Regions from separate parts of the Homo sapiens genome. Here regions 1, 2, 3, 5, 6 and 7 are each linked to region 4. Evidence: promoter capture Hi-C in 16 types of primary human blood cells and fetal thymus (Javierre and others, 2016). All regions are on one chromosome and are shown on one strand. The core of a region is centred on a gene start or on the middle of the fragment in contact, and the rest is flanking DNA. Distances in the headings are between cores, read along the strand shown. Region 1 has its middle 11 kb from the start of LILRB4. Region 2 holds the start of SBK2 (SH3 domain binding kinase family member 2). Region 3 holds the start of NAT14 (N-acetyltransferase 14 (putative)). Region 4 holds the start of TNNT1 (troponin T1, slow skeletal type). Region 5 has its middle 9.8 kb from the start of ZNF579. Region 6 overlaps ZNF524 (zinc finger protein 524). Region 7 overlaps ZNF784 (zinc finger protein 784).

Region 1 (3,424 bases), core at 608-3,107, 480 kb before region 4:
TGTCATGGCCCATGGAGAGAGGTTGACCCTCCTGTGTTGCTCTGATGTTGGCTGCAAAATATTCTCTCTGTCCAAGAAAAAGATACATCACCTTCCCCAGAGTTCTGGCCAGAAGTTCTCCCAAGATGACTTCCCCTTAGGCCCTGTGAGCATCTCCCATGGGGGCCAGTACAGATGTTCAGTGGACACAACCTCTCCTCTAGGTGGTCAGCCCCCAGTGACCCCCCTGGACATCCTGATCGCAGGTGAGAAGCCCAGCGGGTTCAGTTAGGGACCCAGGCTCTGTACAGGCCCTGCCAGGGGAGCCTAGGTGGTGATGGTTGGGATGAGGGGTGGGGGTCTCAAGGGAGGGAGAGGCAGAGAGAGAGAGAGGATGGATTGGGCGGGGACGGGGAAACTCAGAGAAAACAGAGACAGAGATACTGAGGGTCCCAGAGAGAGGCCTGGGGAAGTCTCAGCTCAGAACAAGGTGGGGCGGCTCCTCACCCATCCTTCTTCTCTCCAGGACAGATCCGTGAGACAGCCTCCCTCTTGGTGCAACCAGGCCCCACTGTGGTCTCAGGAGAGAACATGGCCCTGCTGTGTCAGATGCAAAGCTGGGTGGACAGACACTTTCCTTCTATCTGAGGAGGATGCAGCTGACAAGACCCCACCCTCGTATCTAATATCAAAGTACCCTACTCTGTGGTAGAGGTTGAATTCTCCATGAGTCCTGCGACCTCAGCCCATGCGGGGACCTACAGGTGCTATGCCTCATAGAGTGTTTACCCCAAGCTGTTGTTCCCCCAGTGACCTCCTGGTAATACAGGAGTTACTAAGAAATTGTTTTAGGCAGATAGTAAGGGTAAAGGTTCTTGGTGGAAATTTTCCAGTAATAAGGAACAATCCCTGAACCATCTCTTTTCTAACAGAAATGACAGCTTAAATGGCCCGGCCAGCAAGCTTTAATGTGCAAATGCCAACCATTAAAAACTGGGTTCACTCAATATGGTGATTCCTACTGTCTTCTCTTTGTTACCACCTGTGCCAAGTGTGATGGCCACCTCCAGACAACACCATGTATTCAAAACATCATGGTGACCCAAATGAATGAAAAAGCCCTTTTTAATATGCATTTTTAAAGGCCTACAGAAAACCAGGGCCAAACCTCTCAATTACTCTAAACTGTCTATAATGGAACAAAAGCCAAATAAAAATCTTGTAGCCTTTATAAAAAGGCTAAAAGAGGCACTAAAAAAGTATATCTTTTTATTCTCTAATCCAGTTAAGTAACAGCTCATCCTGAGGGACAAATTTATTACACAGGCAGCTCCCAATATTAAAAAAAAAAAAAAAAAAACTACAAAAGAAAGCTACAGGACCAAATAGCACCTTAAAAAACCTCCTGAAGGTGGCCACTTTGGTCTTTTATAATATGGACCAGGAGGAGTCCCAAAAGAAAGAAAAAAAGCTCAGGAGAAGGACAAAGTCTCTAGCAGCAGCTTTGAAGGCTCGCAAAGTCCCAGATCACCAAGATGCATCCTCTAGTTGCTATTAGTGTAGCAGGCCAGAATGTCCAGTCAGCAAAATGAAGCAACCTCCACTCTGTCCAGCCTGTGGCAAAAACCACTGAAAACAGAACTGCCCCCAGACATGGAGGTCACTGAGTTCAAAACCAGTCTCACAGATGGTCCAGCAAAACTGATGGATCCTGGTGCTTGAACCTAGGCTCCAGTAGCTCAAACTGCCATTATAGCACAAGAGCCCTGGATAATTCTGGAAATTAAAGGAAGGAAAGTAGACCTCCTTCTAAACACTAAAGCTAGTCTCTCTCTCTTTTCTATTCTCTAATCCAGGCCTCCCTTCTTCCTTCATCACAACCGTAAGGGGCATCTTAGGAAAAAGTCTAATCCAATATTTTCTCAATCTTAGTTAAAACATGCTTTCGGTCAGGCACGGTGGCTCACGCCTGTAGTCCCAGCACTTTGGGAGACTGACGTGGGTGGATCACCTGAGGTTGGGAGTTCAAGACCAGTCTGGCCAACATGGAGAAACCTCATCTCTACTAAAAATACAAAAAATTAGCCAGGTGTGGTGGCACATGCCTGTAATCCAAGCTACTTGGGAGGCTGAGGCAGGAGAATTGCATGAACCCAAGAGGCAGAGGTTGCAGTGAGCCGAGATCGCTCTATTGCACTCCAGCCTGGGCAACAAGAGTGAAACTCCATCTAAAACAAACAAACAAACAAACAAAAAATCAAAAAAACATGCTTTCAAGCCATTGAAGCCATTGTCATGATAGCTCTACTAGTCAGAAAAGCCTGCAAGTTAACCCTAGAAAATAAAAATAATTTAACTGTTTACAGCCCACATAATGTAGCAGAATCACTGTCCTCTAGGGGGAGCTCTTAGCTGGTAAACAGCCCGTAAAGCAAAAAGTAAATAAGGCAGAATAAGCAGTAGTCACTCTCTCCAGGCACAAACACTCAATTAGCTGAGTTAATAGCTCTTTAAAAAGCACTTAAATTAAGCAAGGAAAAGGCAGCTAACATTTACACTAACTCCAAGTATGCTTTCTTGGTTCTCCATGCTCATGCTGCCATTTAAAACAAAAAAACATGTTCTTACTGCTAATAAATCTCCTATAAAAAATCACCAAAAAATTAGCAAGTTATTCTTATTTTTTCTTCCACAAAAAGTAGCAGGGATGCATTGTAAGAAACATCAAAGAATAAACAATAAGGTAGCCAAAGGAAATAAGTTAGCCAATCGGGCAGCTAAGTCAAAGGCATAAAAGCTTCAAGGCCTTAATGCACTTCAAGCCCCTTCTAATCTAAAAAGGCTCCATAAGAGAAATCACACCTCAGTATTCCCCTGAAAAAATAGAATAAGCCACTTCTCAAGGGCATACTTTTCAGCCCTCAGGATGGCTACAGTCAGGATGGCAAATTTATTGGTCAGCCTCCAGCCAACAGAAAGTTCTTGAAGTCCTAAGCTTTTCACTCAGGAAAAAATAAAACTTATCAATGGGCTCAAACATTGTTTTCAGACGGGAAACCTCTAGAATGGTTAACCACGTAACCTCTCTAGCTCACTTCCAACAAAAATTGACACAATAGCAGAAGCCCAGCCCTAGGAAATAAAACCACCTTTATTTAACTCAGGAAATTTAGTATTAGTAAGAACTCTCATCTCTGTCTCCTTCCCTAAGCCAAGCTAAAAAGGGCCCTACACTGTTCGTCTTTCAACCTCCTCGGCAGTAAAAGTTACAGGAATCAACTTCTACATGCATCACACTCAAGTCAAAGCCAAAAAGCTAAAAAACCAACCCCTAACAGTAAAAAAAAAAAAAGCTAAATATTAATGTAAAAAAATAGAAGATCTTAAGCTAAAAATCATAGAAGATAAGTAACTAAGTAAGGGCTACACATCTTACTCAGTCCCA
Region 2 (3,470 bases), core at 903-3,402, 390 kb after region 4:
TGCTACTGCACTCCAGCCTGGGCAACAGAGCGAGACTCCATTTCAAAAAAAAAAAAGAAAGAAAAAAGTCAAAAGTTCTGTTGTGGAAGCGCCTGCCTTTGTTATGGCAGCCCCAGCAGATGAATGCACACTTTTTCTGCATTCATGCTAGGAGATTTTTGAAGGCAGGGACTGGCTCTGGTTCAATTCTGGGTCCACTGCCCGCCCAACCCCCCCAGCACAGGGCTGGCCTCAGAAGGCGTGCCCTGAACTGACTGACCTCAGGTTGCCTCCCTATTTTCCGTTTCATGGAAGGACACGGTGCTTGGCAGAAAGGCCCAGGGTAGTGGGGAGCTGTCCTGCGCACCCACTGTGTGCCGGCCTTGCTAAGTGCTTAGCAGACAGCATCACTCTGCATCATCCCACGGTGACCACTACAGCCGCCACAGGAGGCTCCTGAGCTGGGAGCTCTGTCTTACCCAGCATTATACAACCCCAGCAACTAGAGCAGTCCACATTCACTCAGAGGATCCACCATTCTTCCAAGTAGAAATCATCACCCACATTTTCCAAAGGAGGAAGCTGAGACTCAGAGAGGGCAAGGGAGTTCCTCAAAACACAGTTTTTGGCAGGGCACCGTGGCTCATGCCTGTAATCCCAGCAATTGGGAGGCTGAGGCAGGCGGATCACTGGAGGCCAGGAGTACGAGACCACCCTGGCCAACAGAGTGAAACCTCATCTCTACTAAGAAAGAAAAATACACACACACACAAATGTAGCTGGGTGTGGTAGTGCATGCCTATAGTCCTAGCTACATGGGAGGCTGAGGCAGGAGGAACACTTGAACCTGGGAGGTGGAAGTTGCAGTGAGATTGTGCCACTGCACTCCAGCCTGGGCGGCAGAGCCAGACTGTCTCAAAAACAACCAACCAACCAAAAGAACAAAAAACAAAAAACACACAGCTTTGGAGGGCAGAGGTAAGACTTGATTCAGGCCTGCCAGCCTCCCCAGCCTGGGCTACCCCAGGCCCGTGCCCCGCCCCCAGCTGAACCCTGCCACCTCTGGCCCCACAGCCTCGTACCTTTCTGACGATGGGTGACCAGAAGGACGCGGCCATAGCAACCCTGGCCCAGGGGACGCACTTCCTCGTAGAGCTCGTCCACCTCGGCTCGGACCAGGGTCTGAGCACTCAGCGTCATCATGTCCTCCAGCGCGCGGGCAGCCTCCTGGCCCTGCTGGAGCTCCTCTAATGTCAGGCCGCCCAGACCCTCCTCCTCGCTGTCCTCCGAAGCCCCTGCCTCCGCCGGCCCTTCCTCAGACTGTTTGCCGGGCATCTCTGCGAGAACAGAGAGGGGTGCCCAGGCTCAGGTCCCAGGCCCAAGGGAGGAGGGGACTGGGGGTCTGGACTCCTGGGTCTGAGGGAGGAGGGGCTGGGGGCTCATCGCGCTTCTCATTGTGACTCAGTCTCCCTCTTGGTGAGAGGTGGGGAGACAAGTCTGGTGTGAGTTCAAGCCCCAGGTCACAGATGTCCCTGCCCGCGTGCCGCCGCCGCCACCCGCCCACCCTGAGGTTGAAAGATGAACCAGATAACTGAGACTCCCCCATCTTGTTTCCAAAGCAAACAGACTTGGGCCCTGGGGGTGGATGAGTAGACTCTGTCTCCTGAGAACAAACAGGTGCTCTTGGGCTCAGGGCTGGGAGGGCGGGCTGTGCAGAGGGCCTGGGACGCCTGGGTCCTGCATGGGACCGAGCACTTGGGATCAGTCCCCAAGCTCCTGACAGGCCTGGGGTCCCACTTTCACAGCCCACCCACCTCCCTCCGACCCAGCCCCCCAGCCCCTCCTCCGCCAGGCCCAGGGGTCCAGGCCCCCAGCCCACCTCTCTCCCGGAACCTCATACAATTCACACAACTGGGGACCCCCTGATTCTGTTTCCCTCACCCTCCACCGCTCTACAGCCTCCAGGTGCAGCCCAGGCTCCCCTGAGGGACCGAGGACTCGGGCCACCTGGTACAGTCACCCTCAGGTGCTGCCCACCTCAGGCCAGGGCACCTTGCCCACCTCCCAACCTGGGCTCAGACCTCCAGACCTCACCTCCTCCAAGGCCCTCCTGACCCTCCGGCCGCCGGCTGTGGTCAGTGCCCGGCACTTAGGGCTCATGCCAGCAGAGGCCTGCCTAGGAGCAAGACCCCGCCCCGACTTTGGGGGTCGTAAGGCCCCGCCCCTGGGCCCGCCCCTTCTGCCCCCACTGGGAGCAGAGCGACATCGTGTGATGACTCCTGGAACTGGCTGTGGTCAGGTGAATACCCTGACCCAAGAGTTGAGCCCTCCTCCTTCAGACCCAGGAGTCCAGGCCCCAGCCCCTCCTCCTCCCTCAGACTCAGGAGTCCAGGCCCCCAGCGCCTCCTCCCTCAGACCCAGGAATCCAGTCTCCCAGTGCCTCCTCCCTCAGACCCAGGAGTCCAGGCCCCAGCCCCTCCTCCCTCAGACCCAGGAGTCCAGGCCCCCAGCTCTTCTTCCCTCAGACCCAGGAATCCAGGCCCCCAGCTTTCCCTCCCTCAGACCCAGGAATCCAGTCCCCCAGTGCCTCCTCCCTCAGACCCAGGAGTCTAGACCCCAGCCCCTCCTCCCTCAGACCCAGGAGTCTAGGTCTCCAGCCCCTCCTCCCTCAGACCCAGGAATTCAGGTCTCCAGCCCCTCCTCCCTCAGACCTAGGAGTCCAGACCCCCAGCCCCTCCTCCCTCAGACCCAGGAGTCCAGGCCCCAGCCCCTCCTCCCTCAGACCCAGGAGTCCAGGCCCCAGTCCCTCCTCCCTCAGACCCAGGAGTCCAGGCCTCAGCCTCCCCCACCCATCTGAAGTTTTCCGGCAGAACTGAGGCCTCCCCACCCCCTCAAGGCCTCTCTTCCCAGTTGCTCCAGCACCTGCTTCCCGCCCCTCTGAGTCTGAGGTCATCCCACACTGCATCGTTCTGGAATCTCATTGTCTCATTCTTTCCCCAAACTAGACCCCAGCATCTGATCCCCTGGACACCCCTCTCCAAGCACTTGTGTCTGACCTGTCAATGGGGCATTGATGGGGCAGCTGGGTGGGGTCAAGGCAGGGGTGGGTTCCAGAAATGATTTCATTTTCTACACGGGACCCGGACTCCTGGGCCTGATGGAGGAGGGGGTTGAGGACCTGGACTCCTAGGTCTGAGGGAGGAGGGGGTTGAGGACCCGGACTCCTGGGCCTGAGGGTGGAGGGGGTTGAGGACCTGGACTCCTGGGCCTGAGGGAGGAGGGGGTTGAGGACCTGGACTCCTGGGTCTGAGGGAGGAGGGCCTGAGGGCTCCTGATTCCAAAGAGAGGAATAACAATAAAAATAGTTTGAAAGCGCATAACAGGAATACAGGCCAGTGAGTGCCTCCCTGCTGTAAGCACAGGGAGATTAAGCCCCACTAGGAAGTCCCCAAGCCTTGGGCCACAGTGGGACTTCAGACCCCTGTTTTTTT
Region 3 (3,395 bases), core at 261-2,760, 340 kb after region 4:
GTAACCACGGTCCAGCTCCAGCCAGCGCAGGAGGTGACCACAGTCCAGCTCCAGCCAGCACAGGAAGTAACCACGGTCCAGCTCCAGCCAGCACAGGAGGTGACCACGGTCCAGCTCCAGCCCGTGGCCGGCCAGCTCTCCAATTCCAGTGGGGGAGCTGTGGCTACTGAGGCACCCAACCTGCTGGTTGTTCAGAGCGGGGCAGCTGAGGAGTTGCTCACTGGCCCGGGCCCCGGGGAGGCGGGGGATGGCGAGGCCAGCACTGGTGTGGTCCAGGATGTCCTCTTTGAGACACTCCAGACGGACGAGGGCTTGCAGAGCGTGCTGGTGCTGAGCGGGGCCGATGGCGAACAGACTCGACTCTGCGTACAGGAGGTAGAAACACTTCCTCCTGGGCTGACGGAGCCGCCTGCCACCGGCCCACCCGGACAGAAACTCCTCATCATCCGCAGCGCCCCAGCCACTGAGCTGCTGGACAGCAGCAACACTGGAGGAGGCACCGCCACGCTGCAGCTCCTGGCCCCACCGCCGTCAGGCCCAGCCTCGGGCCCCGCGGGGCTCCCCGGGGCTCCAGCCTCCCAGATGGTGCAAGTGGTCCCCGCAGGAGCTGGGCCTGGTGTTATGACCCCTCAGGGCCTGCCCTCCATCCAGATTGTCCAGACTCTACCCGCAGTCCAGCTGGTGCACACGTTTTGAGGAGAGGCAGTGATTCCCCTCCCGCCCCGCACAGAGACCCCGACTCACTGCCAGCCGGGGCGGGGCAGGGTGCCGCAGGCTGGGCTTGCTAATAAAGACCCGAGTCTCCCCGCCTGTGTTTTGTTTTCCTGGGGGGAGGGAAGGGGGCAAAGTCATGGTCCTAGCCCCCGCCTGGGAGCGTGGAGTCTTAAGTCTTGCGTCCTGGGTCGCAGATGGCTTGTTCTGCATCCTGGGGCCAGCCACTACGTAGGGCTCAGTTCCCCTGTCCTGAAACCAAAAAAGGCCGCAGGGGTCATTATAGTGGGGAGGTGGTGACATCAGACTCCAGGGAGTGCTACTTGTTCACTGTAGGTCGCCCCGCTGCCCCCCTCGTGTGAGAAGTAGGGGGATCCTTATGCGGAAGGGTTCTGCGACCCCGGGCGCCCCGTGGGTGGAGTGGGGTCCCTGGGGATGGGGGAGTCGGGCGCCAGGATGCTGAGCGTGGCCGGCTCCTCCCGCGAAGGCCCCGGCACGGATGAGAATCCACGCGCTGGCGTCGCCGCCCGGCGCTCAGGTTGCTCAGCAACGAGGGAACGTGGGGCGGGAGCTCGCGCTGGTCCCCAGCCCGCCGCCCGTCTCCTGCCGGCTTCCGCTCCCGTTCTTCCCCAGGTCCCCTTTCCCCGTTGCTCCTTCTCTAGGGATAGGAGAGGTCGCTTCCCGGCCCTCCGCAGGGTCACAGCTCGGTTCCTCCCAGCCCGCCCTCCGGGGAGCTTAGCAACGGTTGCTACGGCCCGGAGCGGGCGCCGCCCCGCCCCACCGCGCGCGGTCTGACGTCACTTCCGCCCGCGACCCCCTTCCAGACCCGCTCCCGAAACCTTGTCGAAGGACCAAAGGCGACCGGTGCAGGTGCTTGCTGGTCCTTGTTCTTGTGGCGCGGGACGGGGACGACTGTGGGGGAGGGGGCGCTGGGGACCGGGGTGGAGCGAGCGTGGTCCGTTCTCTGGCATGTGGGGAGGGTGTTCGTGGACCCCAGTGCCTGGGAGGGAGCCCCGTGCTGCAGTGTTGGCGTCCGCAGCGCGTTTGGGAGTGTAGATCGCTGAATAATACGGGGGAGGGGGGATCCCGGGAGACTTTAGCAAGGTCGCTGAGTATTGTGGGGGGCGCCTGTCCTGCCGAGATCCTCGCTTGGGGGCCCCGAGGGTTCTCAGTGTCCTGATCTGGGAAGTGCCGTTGCTGCTCCCTACCCCTCGGGGGAGCTTTGGGGACAGAGGTGCCCCCCTGACGCTGACCTACTTATGTTCTCACCAGGTGCACGACGCCAGCTCCCTTCTGGGGGGCCGGGGCCTGGGGGTTGCCATGGCCCCCAGCCACCTGTCAGTGCGGGAGATGAGGGAAGATGAGAAGCCCCTGGTGCTGGAGATGCTGAAGGTGAGAGGCAGGGGCCCCAGGGGGCCTGGGAGTGGCTGCAGTGGGGGAATTGCAAGTGGATTCAGCCACCCCCTCCCACCCACCTGAGCCAGCCTGGACCCCTGGAGCGGGATCTTTTCCTCCTGAGCCTCAGCCGCCCTGCTGCTGAAAACCACAGCAGGTGTGGCAGGTGGGGGCTCACCCCCCCAGCCCTACTGGGACCCCAGCACCAACGCCCTCCCTGGTCTCCCATCTCCAGTCGGCTGTGCACGCCAGCACAACAGCCAGCTCTGTGCCTCGGACCCCAACTCTTCAAAGCACAGCCCAGCACCCCAACCTAGCCCAGCAGCCTCCCTCCAGCCTCCACTCCAGCCTGAGGCAACCTCCCTGTCCTTACTTCCCTGGGGCCTCACTGCGGCATTGCTACTGAATTGAGTGCCCCCACAGCTCCTAATTCACTCATCCATCCATCATTCGCTCTCGTTCATTCATTCACTCCATACCCAGTGTGCCACACTGAACATCGGACTGTGCTGCCTTCCCTTCCCATTTGGGAGCTCTCACCCCGCCCCGGGCAGGGTCTACCTCCTCTCTTTGTCCAGGAGGCCCTAGCGTTTCGGATGGCTGAGCCACCCCTCCTGCCCACAGGCCGGCGTGAAGGACACGGAAAACCGCGTGGCCCTCCATGCCTTGACACGGCCGCCGGCCCTGCTCCTCCTGGCGGCGGCCAGCAGCGGCCTGCGCTTTGTCCTGGCTTCCTTCGCCCTGGCCCTCCTCCTGCCGGTGTTCCTGGCTGTGGCCGCCGTGAAGCTGGGCCTGCGGGCCCGATGGGGCTCGCTGCCTCCGCCGGGTGGCCTGGGGGGCCCCTGGGTGGCCGTGCGGGGCTCCGGTGACGTGTGTGGGGTCCTGGCTCTGGCCCCTGGCACAAATGCAGGGGACGGGGCCCGGGTCACCCGCCTGTCTGTCTCTCGCTGGCACCGCCGCCGGGGCGTGGGCAGGAGGCTGCTGGCCTTCGCGGAGGCCCGGGCTCGGGCCTGGGCTGGGGGCATGGGGGAGCCCCGGGCCCGGCTCGTGGTCCCCGTGGCTGTGGCCGCCTGGGGGGTGGGAGGGATGCTGGAGGGCTGTGGCTACCAGGCCGAGGGGGGCTGGGGCTGCCTGGGCTACACGCTGGTGAGGGAATTCAGCAAAGACCTGTGAAGCTACAGACTGACAGCCAGGGCAGGGGAGGAGGGAGGGGCGCCAGCACCTGATGATCGCCTACTGTCTGCGGGTTCTTTTACCTGCTCTCCCTCAGTGAGTCCTCAACCACCCTG
Region 4 (3,022 bases), core at 50-2,549:
GTACTCCTGCGTCTGAGGGAGGAGGGCTCAGGTCTGGACTCTTGGGTCTGAGGGAGGGGGCCGGCTGTCCTAAAGCATGCATGAGGACAGACCTTGGTAGGTGTGGTCCTGGCACAGCCAGGAGGCTGCAGACCCTGCCCCCTCAGCACAGCTGTCCTCTTTTGTCTTATGACAAGTCCATGGGAACCTGATCCAGTTGGGATTAGGAAGAGGCATTTGAGAAGGGACAGTGGCCTGAAGACAATAGCTGCCCCACCCCCAGGAGCTATTTTGGGGGGATGTCATAGATGGTGAAACCGAGGACATTTCCTAAGAAGGGATTTGAGGAAGGGGGGCTTCTGGGAGAATTAGTCACCCGCATCCCCTCTCCCACTCGCCCCACCCCACTGGCTGGTTTCCTCCCCACCTGTCTCCCCTTTCACCTTCCCATACATCACGTAGGGGGCAGGGGCATAAAGGGCACCTTCTGTCCGTAGACCTCACCCTGACCCCTACATTCTTAGACCTCAAAGTCTTTGAGACACCCTAGGCCACAGGGTGCCTAGCCCCAAATCCCAATACCCACAGATTCTGAGACCCCGATTTATGATGCCCGTGTTTCTGAGGCCAGCAAGTCCTCACAGCTCTGGATTCTGAAATCCCAGTTCTTGATAGTCCAGATATGGGCCGGGACATCCTAAGACCACCCCCAGGTCTTGAGACCTCCTAAAATCTGAAACCTCAAGAATATGAGACCCCCAAAATCTTGATACCCAAACTCGGAGGCCCAGTTCATGATACCCCAGATAATGGCACTCTAAGTTTTCATGCTTTCTATCATAATGTCTCAGATTCCGAGCCCTCCACTACCAAAACCCCAATTTCTTCTGAGACCCCCCCAATTCCTGATACCCTCAGAGTCTGAGGCCCCAAATCCTGACACCCAGATTGTTTGACCTCCAAGTCCAGATATCCCTGACTGCTGAGATTTCCCCCAGATTCCCAGAACCCCAAGATCCTAGGAGGTTTTATTCTGGGACATCCAAGTCCTGGCAGCCCCGGGTTAGGATTTGTGTAACCCACAAATCCTAGTATTTTCCCCTCTATCCTGAGTCCCCCTAAAGTCTGAGCCTCTCAAGTTCCCAGACCTCCAGTTGTATGCCCCACCTACCTCTGCACCATTTCTCCACACCCGACATCTTCCCCACCTGCCTCCTGCCCCCTCCCCCAAGGACATGGTTTTTGAAGACCACAGGGCTCCGCAGAGCCCCTTACCTAGGCTGTGTCTGAGATGCTGTGAATCTTGAGGCTGAGCCTTGCTGAGGGCACTGAAGCTCCGGGGAGTTTATAGCTGGAGGCTCGGGCCCGCCCCGAGGGGAGAGGGAGGGGGAGAGAATTCCTTTGCTCAAACACAAGCCTGGGAGTTCAGAGACAGCCCTGCTGCCCCTGGCTCCACACTCAGAGTCCAGAAGCCTCCGTGGGCCCCTCCCCAACCCCATGCCAACCCCATCTGCATGGCCCAGGAGCCCCGCCCCTGCTCCCACCCCACACCCCAGGCTCCCGTGGTGCTCCAACTACCTCCCTTATAGCTCCCTGTGCTTTGACGTCCCCATGCCCGGCACACAGTAGGTCCTTGGAGGACCTACTAATGACACATGGGCTATAAGGAATGTTTCCTGTTTTCTTCTCTCTGTTCCCTCTTTCTATCTAGGTCTCTTTCTGGACCCCCATTTCTGTTGTCTCTGTGGCTCTCCATCTGTGTGTCTCTGTGTGTCTGTCTCTACTTCTTAGTCTCCTCCTCTGTCTCTGTCCATCTTTTTGTCTCCTCCTCCCACCCCCACCCCTTTGTCTGCCGCCAGGATTCCATCCTGGTGACAACAGGCACTAAAGCCGGGAAGCAGGTGTGGGGAGGGGGAGGGGGAGGGTGGGGTGTCAATTAGGGTGAAACCTACCCTCCCTCCCCACCTCCATCTAACGCTGATCTTTTTTGGTATCCCCCTCCCGCTTCCCAGCCAAGCCATGACCTTGAGTTCTAGGTTCAAGCCAGCCCTGGAGAGCAGGCTTCCTCACCCTCCCCGCCTCTCCGTACCTCTGTCTCTGGTGGTCTCGGTCTTTGTGTTTCTGTGCATTTCTCGGGGCCCCTTGCTGGGTCTGTCTTGGGCTCTCTCTGCATCTGTCGCTTTCTGAGCCCCTCAGTGTGTTTCTCGGCATGTGTCTCCGGGTGGTTTTGTCTCTGCATTTCTGTGGGTGTCTCTGCATGTCTGCCCCTCTCAGCGTTTGTGTCTGTGGGGGCTCACAGTCTCTCTGTGCATTTCTGTCCACCTATGACCCCATTTCTGTCTCTTTTTGGCTCTGGGTCTCTGTGTCTGTGTTCACGTCTCTATCTTTCTAGTTCTCTCCATGTCTCTCTTAGTGCCCGCAGTTCCCCCTCTGTGGCTCTCCATTTCCATCTCTTATAGGGTCTCCATGTCTCTGCACCTTGCTGTGAGTATATCTCTGTCTCTCTTTTCTCCTTTCTTTGCACTTCCTTCTATGCATCTTGTGGTATTTTCTCCCTCTCTCTTTGGGTCTTTGCCTGGCTCCTACTCTCTCTACTCCCAACTCAGTCTCTCTGTTGTCGGTCATGTCTCTCTGCCTGTCTGTTTCTCTGTGTCTCTCTCTCTTTGACCTTTAGTCTTGGCATCTCTGTGCACTCCACATGGGCCAGAGGAGCTGTGACAATAGAGATCAGAAGACTGATGGAATGAACTGTTTGTGGCAATAAGATACCAAATTATAAACAAGACCTAAGGCCATGCCAGGCAAGGGTTAAGCCACGCATCCCTACACTTATATAATCGACTATGTTCCAACTGCCACAAGGCTTTTCCTTTTTCTAGCAGCTAAACAAGCACCGGCCTCAAGATAAGCAATATTACAACCATTGCAGCCATCCATTGCCAGATGCTGACTAGCTGAACCCCCTGTTCCACAAGGCATAACTACAGCATTAGTTGAACAAGAGACTGATTTCAGTAACTTTCTCCTGATAAGATGCCGCAGA
Region 5 (3,191 bases), core at 202-2,701, 420 kb after region 4:
GAGTTTTCTCAGGAAAGCAGGGCCTACTGGGAACCTCATAATCGCTAGTGGGCTGTAAATGGTACAGCCACTTTGGGAAACAGTCTGGCACTTTCTTAAAAAGTGAATCACACACTTCCCACACAGCCTAGCAATTCTGCTCCTAGAAATCTGCCCCAAAGAAATGAAAACATATGCCCACACAAAGACCTGTTGCTGGGCGCAGTGGCTCAGGCCTATAATCCCAGCACTTTGGGAGGCTGAGGCAGGTGGATCACCAGAGGTCAGGAGTTTGAGACTAGCGTGGCCAACATGGTGAAACCCCGTCTCCACTAAAAATGCAAAAATTAGCTGGGTGTGGTGGTGTGCCCCTGTAATCCCTGCTACTCGGGAGGCTGAGGTGGGAGAGTTGCTTGAACCTCAGAGGCAGAGGCTGCAGTGAGCCGAGACTGCACACCACTGCACTCCAGCCTGGGCAACAGAGCAAGATCCCGTCAAAAAAAAAAAAAAAGAAAAAAAACAAAGGCCGGGCATGGTGGCTCATGCCTGTAATCCCAGCACTTTTTGGAGGACGAGGCAGGCAGATCATGAGGTCAAGAGATTGAGACCATCCTGGCTGACAGGGTGAAACCCTGTCTCTACTAAAAATACAAAAATTAGCTGGGTGTGGTGGCTGGTGCCTGCAGTCCCAGCTACTCAGGAGGCTGAGGCAGGAGAATGGCATGAACCCGGGAGGCGGAGCTTGCAGTGAGCAGAGATCATGCCACTGCACTCCAGCCTGGGCAACAGAGCGAGACTCCGTCTCTAAACAAAAAAAAAAGACTTGTACATGCATGTTCACAGCAGCATTACTTAAACAGCCAAAGAGTAGAAACAATACAAACACCCATCAACGGATGAGAGGATAAACAATGTGTGGTGTATCCATACAGTGGAATATTATTCAGCTGTAAAAAAGGAATGAAGAGGGTGGGTGCAATGGCTCATGCCTTTGATCCCAGCAGTTTGGGAGATCAAGGTGGGAGGATTGCTTGAGCCTAGGAGTTGAAGATCAGCTCGGGCAACATAGTGAGACCCCCATCTCTACAAGAAATAAAAATATTATCCAGGTGTCATGATGCACCCTGTGGTCCCAGCTGCTCAGGAAACTGGGGAGAGATGGATCACTTGAGGTTGAGGCTGCAGTGAGCCATGATAGCACCACTGGACTCTAGCCTGGGCAACAAAGTGAGGCCTTCTCTCAATAACAGCAACAACAACAACTAAAAAGCAATTAAGTACTGAACTGACACAATTTACAATGTGAATAGACCTTGAAGACATTATGCTAAGAGGAGGAAGGCAGTCACCAAAGCTACATATGGCATATTCCATTTATATGAAATGTCTAGAATAGGTTCATCCATAGAGACAAAATAGATTCGTGGTTGCCCAGAGCTGAGGGTGGGAATGGAAAATGACTATTAACAGGCACAGAATGTCTTTTTGAGGTGATCAAAATATTCTTTTTAAAATTTTTAATTAATTCATCAATTTATTTATTATTATTATTATTTTTTAGAGACAGGATCTTGTTCTGTGGCCTTGGCTGGAGTTCAGTGGTGTGATCATAGCTCACTGCAGCCTTCAACTCATATAGCTCACTGCAGCCTTCAACTCCTGGGCTCAAGACACCCTCCCACCTCCGTCTCCCAAGTAGCTGGGATTACAGGCACTTGCCACCACAGCCAGCTAATTTTTGTTCAATGTTTTGTAGCGACAGGGTCTTGCTTTGTTGTCCAGGCTGGTCTCAAACTCTTGGCTCCAAGTGCTCCTGCCGCCTCAGCTTCCCAAAGTGCTGGGATTACAGACCTGAGCCACCACACCCAGCCTGGAAATATTCTAAAATTGGATTGTGGTGATAGAGGCACAACTCTGTACATTTATTAAAAATTATCAAATTACGCCTGTAATCCCAGCACTTTGGGAGGCCGAGGTGGGTAGATCATGAGGTCAGGTGTTCAAGACCAGCCTGGCCAACATGGTGAAACCCCGTTCATACTAAAAATACAAAAAAAAATTAGTGAGGCGTAGTGGCAGGCACCTGTAATCCCAGCTACTTGGGTGGCTAAGGCAGAGAATTGCTTGAACCCAGGAGGCGGAGGTTGCAGTGAACCGAGATCAAGCCACTGCACTTGAGCCTGGGCAACAGAGTGAGACTCTGTCTAAAAAAAAAAAAAAAATTATCGAATTGTACGACCAAATGGATGAAGTCTATATGTAAATGGTACCTCAGTAAAGCTGTTTATGAAAAGGCAAAACGAAAACAGAGCCAATAATAGTATCTATTTTATGTGGCTGTTGTGAGGATTAAATGGGCTAATCTACGTAGTACCCTTGAAGCAGACATAGGGTGAATACTCAAGAAGTGGGTTCCTATTATTAACAAATGTGGTTGCAGGCTGGGCACGGTGGCTCACGCCTGTAATCCCAGCACTTTGGGAGGCCAAGGCGGGTGGATCACCTGAGGTCGGGAGTTCGAGACCAGCCTGACCAATATGGAGAAACCTTGTCTCTACTAAAAATACAAAATTAGCCGGGCATGGTGGTGCATGCCTGTAACCCCAGCTACTCGGGAGGCTGAGGCTGGAGAAGCACTTGAACCCAGGAGGCGGAGGTTGCGGTGAGCCGAGATCGTGCCATTGCACTCCAGCCTGGGCAACAAGAGTGAACTCCGTCTCAAAAAACAAACAAACAAGCAAAAACAAACAAATGTGGTTGCGATCGTACGTGTAAAGTGTTCAGCAAGTGAAAGACAAATGGCAGGTCGTGTTCCCTACATAACCACAACTCCTTCAATAATCACCGTCATTTGGTGACTTTATCATTCTCTGCATCTGTCCCACGCATCTGGCCTCAGTTTTCCACCTGCGCAATGAAAAAGCTGGGCTCTATCTCCAAGGCCGTCTTCTCTTTGTCAATTCTGTATTTGGTTCTGAAAATGTTTCTCTTCGAGGCGGCAGATCTGCAATGAGAAGGGTGGGCAAACCCATAGAGCCGAGGTGGGGCCCGCGGGTCCTGGAGACCAACATGTGTGTAGGAAGGGGCCTGAAAGTGGGCTGTGTGGTGGGAGCTGACGGGGAGGGTAAGATTGGCCTGGGTAAGGGTTCGAGGACCAGGTCTGCCAATTTGTAACCGTGATATCTTGGACAAGGAACTTCCTCTCTGCATCC
Region 6 (3,463 bases), core at 343-2,842, 450 kb after region 4:
GAGAGTAAAGATTTGAACGAATGATGTCTTGACTCCAGGGCCCAGGCTCTTAACATCGCAGATATGTTTCCTCATCCAGGAATCAGGGTCAAATATCACCTGGGACCAGTCCCTTTTTTCCACTCTGGAACCCCTTCCCCACTTCTGCCAGTCAGCAGGGAGGGATGAGAGCATTCGTGAGGCCTCTATGGCTCTGGAGTTTGATGGGCTCTCCGTTTCAAGGATCACAATACTGGTCTGCACTCTCAGTTGGACTCTATCCTCTCTGGAAGGTTTTTTTTTGTGGGGAGGTGGGGAGGGGTGTTGCTCATGTTGATCTTGAACTTCTAGATCCAGAAGGAGAGTTAGGGAGGCATAGGGATGTCTGGTGGAGCTCAGGGAAGTGCCTGTTTATCAGCTGATACAAGATCATCTCACTGTTTTACCCACCAGCATAGCTAAAATTGTGTATCTGGATGAATGTCAAACACACCTTTGTCAAGAGACTTGGAGAGAGGGATGGGCGAGGTGTTGGGGGACACAGGGGTGCTCTAGACCCTGTGAGCACTGACTCTGCCCCTCTCTCCTCTTAGCTGGCTCCAGTGCCCAGACCCAAGCCCCCCACTGCTCAATGGACACCCCCAGCCCAGACCCGTTGCCTTCGCCTTTGCCCGGGGAGGAAGAGAAACCTCTGGCCTTATCTCCTCCTGTTCCCCGGGGCCGCCGAGGCCGTCGTCCTGGGGGAGCCACCTCCTCAAATCGGACACTCAAGGCCTCCCTCCCTCGCAAGCGGGGCCGCCCCCCCAAGTCAGGGCAGGAGCCCCCACTGGTGCAGGTGCAGGGGGTGACAGCCCCAGTAGGCAGCAGTGGCGGGAGCGACCTCCTCCTGATCGATGATCAGGGTGTGCCCTATACGGTCTCTGAAGGTTCAGCGGCTGGGCCTGAGGGCTCTGGCCCCAGGAAGGCCCCACACTTCTGCCCGGTGTGCCTGCGGGCCTTCCCCTACCTCTCCGACCTGGAGCGCCACAGCATCTCGCACTCAGAGCTGAAGCCGCACCAGTGCAAGGTTTGCGGCAAGACCTTCAAGCGCTCCAGCCACCTGCGGCGGCACTGCAACATCCATGCCGGCCTGCGGCCCTTCCGCTGCCCGCTGTGCCCCCGCCGCTTCCGCGAGGCGGGCGAGCTGGCGCACCACCACCGCGTGCACTCGGGGGAGCGCCCGTACCAGTGCCCCATCTGCCGGCTGCGCTTTACAGAGGCCAACACGCTCCGGCGCCATGCGAAGCGCAAGCACCCGGAGGCCATGGGGGTACCCCTGTGTGCACCAGATCCAGGGTCTGAACCGCCGTGGGACGAGGAGGGCATCCCGGCCACAGCAGGGGCCGAGGAGGAGGAGGAGACAGAGGGGAAAGGGGAGCCGGCCTGACCCACACCCCCGGCCATCGCTCCCTGGGCCAGGTTTAGAGCAGGGAGTTTGGCTGGTGCTGGGCCTGAGCCAGGGGGCCGGGACACCCTTGTTTCCGGTGGTCTTCCCGTTGTGGGAGCAGGTGGAGGGTGGAGACCTAAACTTTGGGGTCCAGCTGCCTTCAGCCCCCCTCCCCCAGACTAACAGACCCTTGGAGGCAGGGGCTGTGGAAATAAATCTCTGCCTGCTGGCTGCCTGTGTGTGTTCCGTGCCGGGATGCCATCCTCTCCTGCCTTCAAATGTTCTTCCTCGGCTACACCGTCCTGTCGGGAGTGCGGGGAATTGGAGAGGACCCCACTTCCTGTGCCTCATGAGCGTGGTGCTCGCCAAAGAATGGTTTTGGGGGGAACCTTGGCCCCTTCCCCATCTCCATCAGACCCCAAAGTCCATGGGTCCCTCGGAGTCCGCGGGGAATTGGTTCCACGAACCTCGCAGATACCAAGATCTGGGCATACACAAGTCCAGCAGTGGGCCCTGCGGAACCCGCGGATGTAGGAAAATCCGCCCTTCGTATACTGTATGTTCCACCGGTGTTTGGGTGAAAAAACGTCCGCCTCTCAATGGACCTGCAGTTCAAACCCCTGTTGTTCAAGGGTCAGCTGTATTCCCAGTACACATCCAATCTAACTAAAAACATTGAACCTTCCATGCAGACCTGACTGTAGGTCCGACCGCCTCTCTCCTAGCCAATTCCCAGAAATTCTGCAGCCACTTTGCCCCACCTCCTTGTCCTGAGGACCTACTGTTTGGAAGGAAAAATTAAGACAAAGGTATGAGCAGGACGGTCTGGGTAAGGTTTAGAGATAAGGGGTGTGGATTGGGGCGGGGCTAAGGAGCGAGGGGTGGGGCTGAGATTGCGGGGCAGTTAGGCTGGGACCTGGGGCGGGGGCTTAGAAGAGGGTTAGAGTTGGGTGGGGCTTAAAGAGGTTTAGGGGTTGGTCCGCAGAAAGTGAGAGCGGTTTAAAGAGGATGGATAGAGTTGATCTAATAGAGAGTAGGGGCTTGGAGCTGGGGAAGAACAGGAGGAACTGCGTGAGAGTGGGGCAAGGAGGACGGATAATTTTTTTTTTGAGACAGGGTCTCGCTCTGTCATCCAGGCTGGAGTGCAGTGGCCCTATCACCGCTCACTGCAGCCTCGACCTGCCAGGCTCAAGCGACCCTCCTGCTTCAGCCTCCGGAGTAGCTGAGACTACAGACGGGCGCCAGCATATTTAGCTAATTTTTTTTTTTTGAGACGGAGTCTTGCTGTCGTCCAGGCTGGAGTGCAGTGGGGCAATCTGGCTCACTGCAACCTCTGCCTCCCGGGTTCAAGCAGTTCTCTCCCTCAGCCTCCCGAGTAGCTGGAATTACAGGCGCCCGCCACCACGCCTGGCTAATTTTTGTAATTTTAGTAGAGACGGGGTTTCACCATCTTGGCCAGGCTGGTCTTGACCTCCTGACCTCGTGATCCACCCGCCTCGGCCTCCCAAAGTGCTGGGATTACAGGCGTGAGCCACCGCGTCCAGCCTAATTTTTGTATTTTTTTTTTTTGTAGAGACGGGGTTTTGCCATATTGCCCAGGCTGGTCTTGAACTCCTGTGCTCAAGCAATCCGCCTGCCTTGGCCTCCCAAAGTGCTGGGATTACAGGCGTGAGCCACCACGCCAGGCCAAGAGAACGGATTTTAAGGTGAGGGGCGGAGCTTATAATAATTCAGCTCTGAGGTGGGCGTGGTTCAGGGCCGAGGGCCGGGGGCCGGGGCTTAAAGGAGAAACTCTGAGGGAACAGGGTATTGGAGGTGGGACTTAGAAGGTGCTGATGGGGGCGCACGACTGCTATGGAGGCGATGGGGAGAGAAGGAAGTACTTAATCTAAGGGAAGTTCCTGGGAGAGTGGAAGCTTAGCAGGAGGGGCTGAATGGGTCTGGGTTTGGCTGTTTGGGATGGGGCTGAGTTGGGAGCCGGGATTATAGCGATTATATGAGCGGGCAGTGTCAAGTGTGGTAAATCCATGGCTCTTGACCAGCATGCAGCAGAATCAG
Region 7 (3,428 bases), core at 457-2,956, 470 kb after region 4:
CCATCTCTACTAAGAATACAAAACTTAGCTGGACATGGTGGTGGGCATCTGTAATCCCAGCTACTCAGGAGGCTGAGGCAGGAGAATCACTTGAACTCAGGAGGCAGAGATTGCAGTGAGCTGAGATCGCACCACTGCATCCAGCCTGGGTGACAGAGTGAGACTCCATCTCAACAAATAAATAATTTGGACTTCAGTCCCAGAGTACTTCAGTACAGAAACTTGAAGATGAGGCCAGGTGCAGTGGCTCATGCCTGTAATCCCAGTACTTTGGGAGCCCAAGGCGAGCAGATCACCTGAGGTCAGGAGTTCGAGACCAGTCTGGCCAACATGGTGAACCATCCTTTCTACTAAAAGTACAAAAATTAGCTGGGCGTGATGGCAGGTGCCTGTAATCCCAGCTACTCGGGAGGCTGAGGCAGGAGAATCACTTGAACCCAGGAGGTGGAGGTTGCAGTGAGCTGAGATTGCGCCACTGCACTCCGGCCTAGGCGACAAGAGCGAGATTCCATCTCAAAAAAAAAAAAAAAAAAAAAAAAGGAAAAAAAGAAACTTGAAGATGAAACTAGGTAAGAGCGCTGCTTGGGTGAGTCCTGTGTGACCCATGGGAGAGCAGCTACCCTGTGTGGCTCCATGTTCTAATGCTGAAGACCCAGCATGAGACAGACGTTGTGCCAGTGCCCCCAGGGTTCAGGGTTCAGCAGTAACATGGAAATGGAGCCTCACAGTGTAAGGGACTTGGAAGTATCACTAGGGCTTGAGGGAGCACAGAGGAGTCACCTGTCAGAGTGGAAGGGGGGCTAGAAAAGCTTCTTGGGGAGAAGGTGATCCCTGAACGATGACATAAACCAACTGGAGTTTTCCAGGTAAAGAAGTGGCAAAGAGGCCGGGCACGGTGGCTCATGCCTGTAATCCTAGCACTTTGGGAGGCCGAGGCAGGTGGATCACGAGGTCAGGAGCTCCAGACCATCCTGGCTAACACGGTGAAACCCTGTCTCTACTAAAAATACAAAAAATCAGCCGGGTGTGGTGGTGGGAGCAGGTGGCAGGCGCCTGTAGTCCCAGCTACACGGGAGGCTGAGGCAGGAGAATGGCATGAACCCAGAAGGCGGAGCTTGCAGTGAGCCGAGATCATGCCACTGCACTCCATCCTGGGCGACAGAGCAAGGCTCTGTCTCAAAAAAATAAATAAATAAGAAAAAAAAAAAAAAAAAGAAGTGGCAAAGATTTCCAGGCGGAGAGTTTAGTGTGTTGAACTAAACCCTGCTATTCTGGAGCATTTAAGACAGATTAGTATGGCTGGAGGTTGGGTTCCTGGGGGCTAAACCCTGAAGGGTCTTGAATTCCAAACTGTGGGGCTTGGGTGATTTTATAGGCTAGAGGCTGGAAACTGGCAGCTGCAAGGCCGAATATGACCACTAACACATTTTTGTTTAGTCTGTGCATTTTTTAAAAAGTTTGACTTGACTGCCAACATTGGGAAATCAAAAGATTTTACATAATGTGAACTAATGGAACTTCTGAAAGAAACTGGAAGATGTGGCAACCCAATCTGTGTTCCGGAGCTGAGCAGCCATTACCCTCTTCTGAAGAGGCACTCTCCAATTTGTTGAATACCAATTCTGAGACCTGGTGGCAATCGCCATTATTTCATGTTGCTGATATTTTCCCCTTGAACCTGGCCGTCTTGCTCGTGTATTTACATTTTCACCCAGCTCCTGTAGGCATTCACATTTCCAAATCGTCTCAAAGCCACAAGGAGCTGTGTCTTGGTGACAAGGATCTGCATGGATGCCATATGGAGAATGAAGAGGGCAGGTGGCCGGGTGCAGTGGCTCACGCCTGTAATCCCAACACTTTGGGAGGCCGAGGCGAGTAGATCACCTGAGGTAAGGAATTTGAGACCAGCCTGGCCAACATGATGAAACCCCATCTCTACTAAAAATACAAAAATGAACTGAGCGTGATGGCGCCCACCTGTAATCCTAGCTACTCAGGAGGCTGAGGCAGAAGTGCTTGAATCCAGGAGGCAGAGGTTGCAGTGAGCAGAGATTGTGCCATTGGACTCCAGCCTGGGCAACAAGAGCAAAACTCCATCTCAAAAAAAAAAAAAAAAAAAAAAAAAAAAAAAAAAAAAAAAAAAAATGCAGGCACTGGACTGCTGTGCAGTTGTCTGTGTGTGAGACCACTGTTGGTCTACAAGTGTAGTGATGCCGAAAACACGTTCCAGTTCCAAAGATATTAACTGGCTCAACTGAGGGAAACTGATAAGGGACTGGACATAAGAATGAGGATGAAGAAGGTTTAAACCTGCCCAGGTATCCAGCTTGGGTGGTGGTGCCAATGACATCAGAAGCATGGAGGTTTCTTTGAGGAAAATGGAATGAGTTCTGTTCACATTGTGAGTTGCCTGTGAGTTATCTCATGGGGCCCACTGGGTGAACAGAAAGGTGTGCAAATCAGAGGCTCTCACTCAACAAGCATGCAAAGCATGTTGAGTGTGCTTTTGCCAAACTTCCCTGACCCCCCTCTCCTACAGCTGAACCACATAACACGTAACCACAGTGGGGCCTACTCACCCCCCATTCTGATGATGGGGAAACAGAAGCTTGGAGGAAGAGATGATGCAACTGACTGCTGGTGGCAAAACCATGGTGAGGCCCCTCCTCCCCCAACTCCCCAAAGCGGACAATCCGAATACAAGACCGACAGAGAAGCCCTTCAGAAGGTCCTTTAATAGGAACAGAACTGAAGGTGTCACACCTCCAGCTCCCAAGTCCTCCTCTCGCCCCCACCACAGTGACTCTTTCACTCCACACCCAGGCCAGCCCACCATGCTGCCATCAGCCAGCCCGCCCTTGGGATTGGCGGGGACTAGGCAGTAAGCTGTTTGCTTCGAACTGGGAGTGGAGGAAATTAGAGAAACCTGAGGCTACCTTGAGGCTTGTGGGGGACCCTGGGCTCTGAGTCTAAAGCTTTAGGAGGGGGATGCTAGGTAGCTGCTTGCTTTATGTGTTCTCAGTTGCCTCCGAAGAAGAGTGGATGGGTTAAGGACGGACCACAATGGGGGTGGGGGTTGCCGCTGTTGGAGTCAAGATCCTATGGTCAGGCTTACATCCTTGAGGCTCAAGTGCTCTCAGCGGTGACTTGGGGACCCTCTGGCTTTGAGGTGATGGGATCCCAGAGTCTCTTCACAGATAACCTGGTGAGTGTCTTCTGCCAGAGGGTGGATAGGCATCCCAGGTCCAGTGCAATGCAGTGAGGTAGGCAGGAGACTCCATCCTGGTCCACCCGTGGAGGACCAGAGCAGAAGACTATGGTGGACCCCAATTCCCCCCTTCCATTCGATCCTGGCTCCTCCTCTGAAGTGCCCAGGCTCTGTCGTGACAGGCTGGGTCTTGCACAAGGACAAGCCAACCAAGAGACAG

Evidence for each region. The method cuts DNA at HindIII sites, captures the fragments that hold promoters and counts their contacts. A CHiCAGO score of 5 or more calls a contact.
Region 1: a contact is called between a fragment that was not itself captured here and the fragment with the promoter of TNNT1 in region 4, in 1 of 17 cell types (M2 macrophages). The highest score is 5.3, in M2 macrophages.
Region 2: a contact is called between the fragment with the promoter of SBK2 here and the fragment with the promoter of TNNT1 in region 4, in 8 of 17 cell types (activated CD4 T cells, non-activated CD4 T cells, naive CD4 T cells and 5 more). The highest score is 9.5, in activated CD4 T cells.
Region 3: the fragment with the promoter of NAT14 here is called in contact with the fragment with the promoter of TNNT1 in region 4 in 17 of 17 cell types (naive CD4 T cells, activated CD4 T cells, M2 macrophages and 14 more); the score reaches 17.1 in naive CD4 T cells.
Region 5: a contact is called between a fragment that was not itself captured here and the fragment with the promoter of TNNT1 in region 4, in 1 of 17 cell types (total CD8 T cells). The highest score is 5.4, in total CD8 T cells.
Region 6: a contact is called between a fragment that was not itself captured here and the fragment with the promoter of TNNT1 in region 4, in 1 of 17 cell types (erythroblasts). The highest score is 5.1, in erythroblasts.
Region 7: a fragment that was not itself captured here is called in contact with the fragment with the promoter of TNNT1 in region 4 in 10 of 17 cell types (activated CD4 T cells, M0 macrophages, M2 macrophages and 7 more); the score reaches 8.5 in activated CD4 T cells.

Annotation. Positions count from the first base shown.
Region 1 is chr19:54,671,843-54,675,266 of GRCh38, forward strand. No RefSeq gene overlaps it. Among named protein-coding and RNA genes, the nearest start is that of LILRB4, 11 kb to the left of the region's middle. The HindIII fragment of the contact is 1,834 bases long and covers 941-2,774 here.
Region 2 is chr19:55,534,981-55,538,450 of GRCh38, forward strand. It overlaps SBK2 (SH3 domain binding kinase family member 2), which reads right to left and starts at 2,153. Exons shown (of 4, transcript NM_001370096.2): 1 at 2,074-2,153; 2 at 1,062-1,316. The coding sequence starts at 1,314. RefSeq lists a silencer at 2,762-3,056. The HindIII fragment of the contact is 39,425 bases long and covers 1-3,470 here.
Region 3 is chr19:55,483,678-55,487,072 of GRCh38, forward strand. It overlaps NAT14 (N-acetyltransferase 14 (putative)), which reads left to right and starts at 1,511. Exons shown (of 3, transcript NM_020378.4): 1 at 1,511-1,581; 2 at 1,984-2,103; 3 at 2,731-3,395. The coding sequence starts at 2,032. The coding sequence ends at 3,279. ZNF628 (zinc finger protein 628) reads left to right here. Exons shown (of 3, transcript NM_033113.3): 3 at 1-810. The coding sequence ends at 696. RefSeq lists a silencer at 1,301-1,720 and an enhancer at 1,821-2,150. The HindIII fragment of the contact is 21,455 bases long and covers 1-3,395 here.
Region 4 is chr19:55,147,907-55,150,928 of GRCh38, forward strand. It overlaps TNNT1 (troponin T1, slow skeletal type), which reads right to left and starts at 1,300. Exons shown (of 14, transcript NM_003283.6): 1 at 1,255-1,300. The HindIII fragment of the contact is 19,232 bases long and covers 1-3,022 here.
Region 5 is chr19:55,569,495-55,572,685 of GRCh38, forward strand. No RefSeq gene overlaps it. Among named protein-coding and RNA genes, the nearest start is that of ZNF579, 9.8 kb to the right of the region's middle. The HindIII fragment of the contact is 6,950 bases long and covers 1-3,191 here.
Region 6 is chr19:55,601,503-55,604,965 of GRCh38, forward strand. ZNF524 (zinc finger protein 524) reads left to right here. Exons shown (of 2, transcript NM_153219.4): 2 at 573-1,636. The coding sequence starts at 611. The coding sequence ends at 1,405. Among named protein-coding and RNA genes, the nearest start is that of ZNF865, 2.4 kb to the right of the region's middle. RefSeq lists enhancers at 1,113-1,663, 2,767-3,318, 3,319-3,463. The HindIII fragment of the contact is 3,453 bases long and covers 1-3,319 here.
Region 7 is chr19:55,618,025-55,621,452 of GRCh38, forward strand. It overlaps ZNF784 (zinc finger protein 784), which reads right to left. Exons shown (of 2, transcript NM_203374.2): 2 at 2,717-3,428. Among named protein-coding and RNA genes, the nearest start is that of ZNF784, 4.8 kb to the right of the region's middle. The HindIII fragment of the contact is 1,799 bases long and covers 808-2,606 here.